Regions from separate parts of the Homo sapiens genome. Here region 1 is linked to region 2. The links are contacts of gene promoters, found by promoter capture Hi-C in human tissues and cell types (Jung and others, 2019). All regions are on one chromosome and are shown on one strand. The core of a region is centred on a gene start or on the middle of the fragment in contact, and the rest is flanking DNA. Distances in the headings are between cores, read along the strand shown. Region 1 overlaps MAGI2 (membrane associated guanylate kinase, WW and PDZ domain containing 2). Region 2 holds the start of MAGI2 (membrane associated guanylate kinase, WW and PDZ domain containing 2).

Evidence for each region. The method cuts DNA at HindIII sites, captures the fragments that hold promoters and counts their contacts. A contact is called where the count stands out against the background at its distance.
Region 1: a contact is called between a fragment that was not itself captured here and the fragment with the promoter of MAGI2 in region 2, in 1 of the 25 tissues and cell types used here (hippocampus).

What each region holds. Positions count from the first base shown.
Region 1 is chr7:78,018,856-78,021,775 of GRCh38, forward strand. MAGI2 (membrane associated guanylate kinase, WW and PDZ domain containing 2) reads right to left here. Exons shown (of 22, transcript NM_012301.4): 22 at 1-1,121. The coding sequence ends at 460. Among named protein-coding and RNA genes, the nearest start is that of DDX3ILA1, 30 kb to the left of the region's middle. RefSeq lists an enhancer at 187-688 and a silencer at 669-828. The HindIII fragment of the contact is 5,187 bases long and covers 1-2,920 here.
Region 2 is chr7:79,452,334-79,455,556 of GRCh38, forward strand. MAGI2 (membrane associated guanylate kinase, WW and PDZ domain containing 2) reads right to left here and starts at 1,334. Exons shown (of 22, transcript NM_012301.4): 1 at 687-1,334. The coding sequence starts at 987. It overlaps MAGI2-AS3 (MAGI2 antisense RNA 3), which reads left to right and starts at 624. Exons shown (of 4, transcript NR_038346.1): 1 at 624-858; 2 at 1,254-1,322. RefSeq lists an enhancer at 1-74. The HindIII fragment of the contact is 8,431 bases long and covers 1-3,223 here.

The DNA of each region.
Region 1 (2,920 bases), core at 357-2,856, 1.4 Mb before region 2:
TAAAAGATATAATCTTGTCTCAGTTTCAGCTTGCTCCGTGCAGTTTGATTTTTAAGGCGATATTCCAGTTTGTGATTGCTCTTAACTTTGTCCTGTTTCTTGATATAAAGTTTGGATGACATCCAAGTCCTTCATGCAGTGGGGAGGAATATTTTTTTTTCTTAAACTAAAGCTACACTGCACTGTCTCTCTGTGATGTTCTTCACGTTATTTTGGTTCTTCCATAGCTGCCAAAGCCCCCACAAGGGAACCGGGGGCTTTAGGATCAGTTTAGGTCTGCGCGTTGATGCGATGCCGCCCAAGCACACCGGACACGTGGGACTTCACGTCGATGCTCCCAGGCCTTGGTGCCTCGTGGATCTATGCGTGTGACAGTGAAAATAAATTAAAACGCCGTGAGACGGAACCTAAGAAGAACTGCCTGCGCCGGGGCGGGCGGGTTGGCCGTGGCCGCGCGGCTCATCTGCTGGCGGCCGAGGCGCCGGGTTTGAGGACGCTGGGCAGCTTGTCAGAACCCGGCACCTTCCAGGGCCCCGGCGCGACGGCGGCCTTGCGCGCCGGGGCGCCCCCCGGGGGTCGCGGGCCCGGCCGGGGACCCGCGCGCGCACCCGCCCTGCCCTCGGCCTCCAGCGCGCCGCTGCCGCCGCCGCCCGGGCCGGCAAACGCCGGCGCAGCCCCCGGGCCTTCGCGCCGGCAGAGCTCGGAGCCCGCCGCCGCACGGGGCGCCTCCTTCCCGCCCGCCCGCGCCGCGTCCGCCGCGTCTGCCGCCGCGAGCCCGGGCGCCCTGGCCTCCGAGGCGGGCCTGCCGGCCTCGGGCCGCCCCTGGCCGCCGGGCGCCTCCTCGAGCCTCGGCCGCGCGGCCCTCTGCGGACTCGCCGAGCGCTCCCTCTGCTCCCCGAGGCGCTGCTTCTTCTGGCCGCAGGCTGAAAGCTCCTTTGGTTTCCTAACGTCGTGTTCCCGTTTGATATCCCAAGTTGGGCCTGGGCTTATCTGGTGGGAAGGGTCGGAGGGTGGGGCTGGATGTGATGGAGAGAATGGAGCGAGGCCGTCGTCCAGGGAGACGCCTACTTCCGGCAGACCTGGGGCGGCGGCAGCGGGAGAACTCCAGGGGGCGGGTTCGTCTGTGGACGGGAAGCACAGGCGTTAGCAGTGGCGCACGCAGGACGTCCCCGTGCCCTCTCTACGCCGGGGACAGGGGCAGGCAGCTGGGGCGATTGCTCTCAGGGGCCGGAGCCACCGCCGCCCCCACCCCCACCCCCACCCTCACTGCCGAGAGGGCAGCGGCCGCGCCCCCGGGGATTTGGGGGTTCCCTCCGCCCCGCTTAGCCCCCACGCCCCGAACCTCGTCCGTGGACCGGGGAGGCCAACGCGAAGCCCAGGCCTAATCCCTTCGCCTTGGCCCTGCTAACTTCCGGGGGTGTTCTCGGGCCTGATAGTCCTGTATAGACAGCTCACTTGACAGCCCTTGAATAAATGGGTCTCCAACTCGAGTAGACCTTGGAATCACCAGGGTGGTGGTGAAAAATACAGATTCCCCGGGAGGAGCAGGCCCGGAGGTTTCAGCAGCACGGGGCCCAGGAAGTCCTCTGTATTTTTATCAGGCACCCATTCTGAAAAAGGTGGCCTAGCAGGGGTGTCCAATCTTTTGGCTTCTTTGGGCTACATTAGAATTGTCTTGGGCTACACATAAAATACACTAACGATAGCTGATGGGCTCAAAAAAAAAAGGTCCATGCATAAATCTCATAATCTTTTAAGAAAGTTTACAAATTTGTGTTGGGTCACATTCAAAGCTGGAGGCGGGTTGGACAAGCTTGGTTTAGAGCCAAGCTTTGAGAAACACTGGTCTGGGTTCTCTGGAAGTTGGGAAGTGACGTTCTCAACCAGTAGGTGTCACTCAAAGCATATTCCTAGCTGCTGTCAGTTTCAGAATTTGGATAAATACATTTTAAAACTATCATTTTTTAAAAAAAATCGTCCTTAATTCCATTTTTTTTCTTTGCCAAGTCCGGATGGAACTTAATTCTTTTTAGTACTTCTAACATTATGGAGGGCCCCAGGACTAAGATAATTCTTTCTAGGAAGTCTAGTTCCAACATTTACTTAGGATTTAAGTTACCTACTTCCAAAAAGGATTTAAGACAATTGACAACATCAAAACACATATAAAACAATGATTAAAATGAGAGATGACTTTTTTTTTAAAGCAACAGCTGGTCAGAGGCCAAGTAGAAGGACAGATGTATTAGGAATCTGAGATGAGTTAGCTGCTACTGTGAGCAACAACAGTTCCCTGGAGCTTCTGGCCACTAAGGGGAAATGAAAGCAGGGAAATCCAATTACTGTGAATCCTTGATATTTGTAAGAAATATGTCTCATGACCTTGGAAATGCTCAAATTTTGTGATATTCTAGAGTGTAATTTTTCTTCCACAGAATTGGTATATGGTCATGAGTGGAGAACGAAGAAACCACATTGATAGATTTGAATTCTGGGTGCCAGGTGAGCCTCCCTCACTAGCTAAAAGATTCAGTCCCACACAGCAACCTCAGTGCATGTGATTCAAGCTCTTGCCTCTGTAACGTGTCAGAGGCTGTCAGTGATACTTGTGCATACTCAGTCCATTAATGTCCAGGGTCTACTTTGTTTGAAACTTGAGGGTTCTTATATAGTACCTTTGATACTGATTTATAAAGCAATAAGGAGAGGAAAAGGGCAGTGGCAATGGTTTTCCCAATAATTCTGGCCATCTTTAGAATGGCAAATCAAAAACGTTTCTCATTCTATGTGAAATTCGAATGGAACATTTTGGGCATAATGTTAACCTTCCTTCTTCCATACACTGATGTCCATTATCATTTTCACATGGTAAAATCCTAGAAGTCCTGGAATCTAATCCTGGCTCTGGCATGTATTTACT
Region 2 (3,223 bases), core at 84-2,583:
CAGGGGTTAGTCAGTACGCACGTGACGCGCGATGCCCACATGACACGACCGTGAGCGGGGGAGGGGGACACGGAGTGAAGAAGGGGAAAAGTTACAGAAGACCCGTCAAAGCGCCCAAAGCAATTTGTCCCTTCTTTTCTTCGCCAGCGGTGGCTCACGGATCCCTAAGGGACAGCTGGGGACCCAGGCGCCCCCAGCCCAGCCCCAGAAACGCTGGACGCAGTTCTCCGCTCACCCCACCACCTTCTCTTCCCAGACCCGCTGGTGATGCCGCTGCACCCTGAAGTTGCTCCTTCCTTCTTTCCCTCCCTTCCTCCCATTCTTTCTTTCTTTTCTTCCTTCCTCCCTTCCCCAAAAGCTCTTCATCCGCTTCGGGTGATGCCACTGACGCACATTCAATTTGCCCCAGCAGCTCTGAGGAGGTCAGACCAGGCCGAGCACCTTCCAAAGGGGAGGGTCTAACTGAGCAAACAAAGTTGCACGCCACACCACAACCTGCCCCTCCCCTCCCTTTAGCCCCCAAGTCGAATCCCCGGCGAAACTCACTTGCACTGCGGGTGCTCTCTGGCCCCCACCCCATCATCGCGCAACACACCCCCTTCAACATGCGCGGCCACCCTTTCATTGCCCTGCGCCCCGAGCGGTCCCACCGCCCGGCAAAACACTGAGCAAGCCGCTGCTCTCACCTTGCTTGACACACTTGAGCCGGAGGGGGTCCTTGCAGTGTTTGATCACGGCCAGCACGTCCCTGATGGTGAGCCCCGCCACGGGGGTCTCGTTCACCTCCAGCAGCAGCTCCTCCGACACCAATTTGCTGCCGCTCTCATAGGCCACCTTGCCGGGCTTCACCTCCCCCAGGTAGGGGAACTGTCCATTCTCGGCGCCCCCCTTCAGTTCAAAGCCCAGCTGGCCCTCCGGGTTCCTGCCAATGACACTCTCATGGACTTTGCTAGTCCAGTGGCTTTTCTTTTTCAAGCTTTTGGACATGGCAGTGGGGCGAGTCGCCTCAGTTCCTGGGCTCCTTGGGGTTAGGGGGGCTGGTGGTGAGAGAATGAGGATGGAGGAGCAAGGGGGCCCAGGGGGAAGAACAGCAGACTTTGCCTTCGCCCCCCTCTATTCGGTGCTTTCCCTCTTCTTTGGATGGAGTGTGGACGAGGAATGGGGAGGATGAGAGGGACGGCTGGGCAGAGGTAGGAGAGCTTGGATGAGGTTGTGCTGTCCCTTGAATGACACTCAAGGCTGTGGCCCCGCAGCAGAGGAAGCAGTGGTGGTGGCGTCGGCGGCGGCGGCGGCGGCAGCCGGAGCGAGCAGTAGCCGAGCTGGTGAGCGGGTGTGGTGGGGGTGGGGAAGGAGGGTAGGGATGCCGGGGGCCACTCCTGCGTGGTGCGAGTGGGAACGCGCGCGCGCGCCTGGGTGTGTGTTGTTAGCTGATATCCATGGCAGCTGCAGTGGCAGGGTGCGTGTGCGTGTGTGTGTGTGTGTGTGTGTGTACTAGTTCTACTGTACTGGCAGACGGGAGGAGGCAGGGGAGGAGGGGCGCGCGCGCCGGGTGGGGAGCCACGGAGGGCTTCGCCGCTGCCTCCCTCCCTCCCTCCGCAGCTTGACCCGGTAGTGAAGGCAGAGAGAGAGGCAGGCTGGGTCCGCCTGGCAGCCTACGGGAGGAGGCGGGAGCCGGGAAGGAGGGGAGCCTAGGCCCGGCGTGGGGAGGCCGGCAGGAAGGGCCTCGAGCCCAGTGCGGACCTTTCTTCAGCCTCTGTGCGACCGAGCCGCGCGCCAGGCTCCTGTGCGAGGAGGACGCGCTGACTCCCTCCGACCTGGGCTCCGATGGAGCAGAAATAGCGGGACCTGGACTTGTGGCGCGCCTGGTGCCACATCTCGGGCTCTGCGAGCGTCCTGGCGCGGGATCCTGCCGTGAGAAGGAGTTGGGGCGGGGGACCCGGCGGGGCATTGCGGGAGAAGGCCTGGGATCCCTGGGAGCCTTGTAGCGTGGGGGAGTTCACTGTGTAGAGAGGTTTCATGTCTTCATCTATATAGTCACTTATTTGTCTTAAAGTTCTCGAAATTCCCTCTTAGAGAAGGAGAAAGTTAGAGAACTGGAGGCTGCGTACCCTGATTACGCAGAAGGGAAGCAGCCTCGCATTCCCCGGGGCAGGCCCCCGCCCGCGCGTCCCGCCAGTAGGGGAATTTAGCGGACGGCTGCGGTTGTCTGGTGAAAGGCTATCCAAGGATAAGGGGCTTCACTTTTCCCAAGTAGGGGAAAGAGAAGGGGTCTACAGGGCTAGGGGTGGAGGGAGCGGATGCAGTGAGCAGCCTCCGCAGAGAAATTGACAATTTAACCAGGGACCTGCGGCAGAGACAAGGCGGAGACACTCCCTTGCCCAGGAAAGCCGCCAGAGTCCGGCTTGTACCTGGGGAAGAATCCTTAAGACGGTCTGGCCCAACACTCCTTTGCTCACAGAGAAAGGGGAGAAGACTCCCGAGGGTGAAAATGGTACATTCGGAGCTGGAACTCAGCTCGCTGACCCCAAGCAGTGTTCCCTTCTTTTCGCCAGGTTTGCATCCAAGAGAGGGGAGGACAGGGGCAAAAGGATGCAGGGAGGCTGCTGATTTCCACTGAAGAGCTAATTTCCTGTGAGACATTAACAGTGATTTAAGAAAAAGATTCCTGTAACTGGTAAATGAATTTCATTTGCTTAACTTTTAGATGATATGTTTCAGGCAAAAAAAAAGTTGTGCACCCACTTATCTCTTTAAAGCGGAGGATGAAAAGCATTGAATAGGTAGGATTCTTAATGTCTGAGATGAAGGCGATGTAGGAGGCAAACAATACGGTTAAAAATGTTGAGTCGACCCAAACAGAAAGACCAGGTTTCAATCCAGACTCTGCGGCTTACTGAGAATATGATCTTGAGTAAACTGCTTGACCTTCCTGAGCCTCAGCTTTCTTAGTTGTTAAATGGACTTTAACAATACTAATCTGTTAGGACTGTGGTGAGGATGAAATCAGGGAAATCAGTCACAGCAGTGCTCTCCTGGCACAGGTGAGTAGGAGTTCGAAATGATAATTCCCTCCTCTTTCCCTCTTAGGTATAACTTACTACTTGGGGATGAGGGGGATCAAATGTAGTCAGAACTGGAAGAGATCTTAAAAAAAGATGATTTGTTTAACCTTGTGTCTTTTTTTCACTTGAGAAAACAGATCCTCCGTAAGTTGGCTGCACTA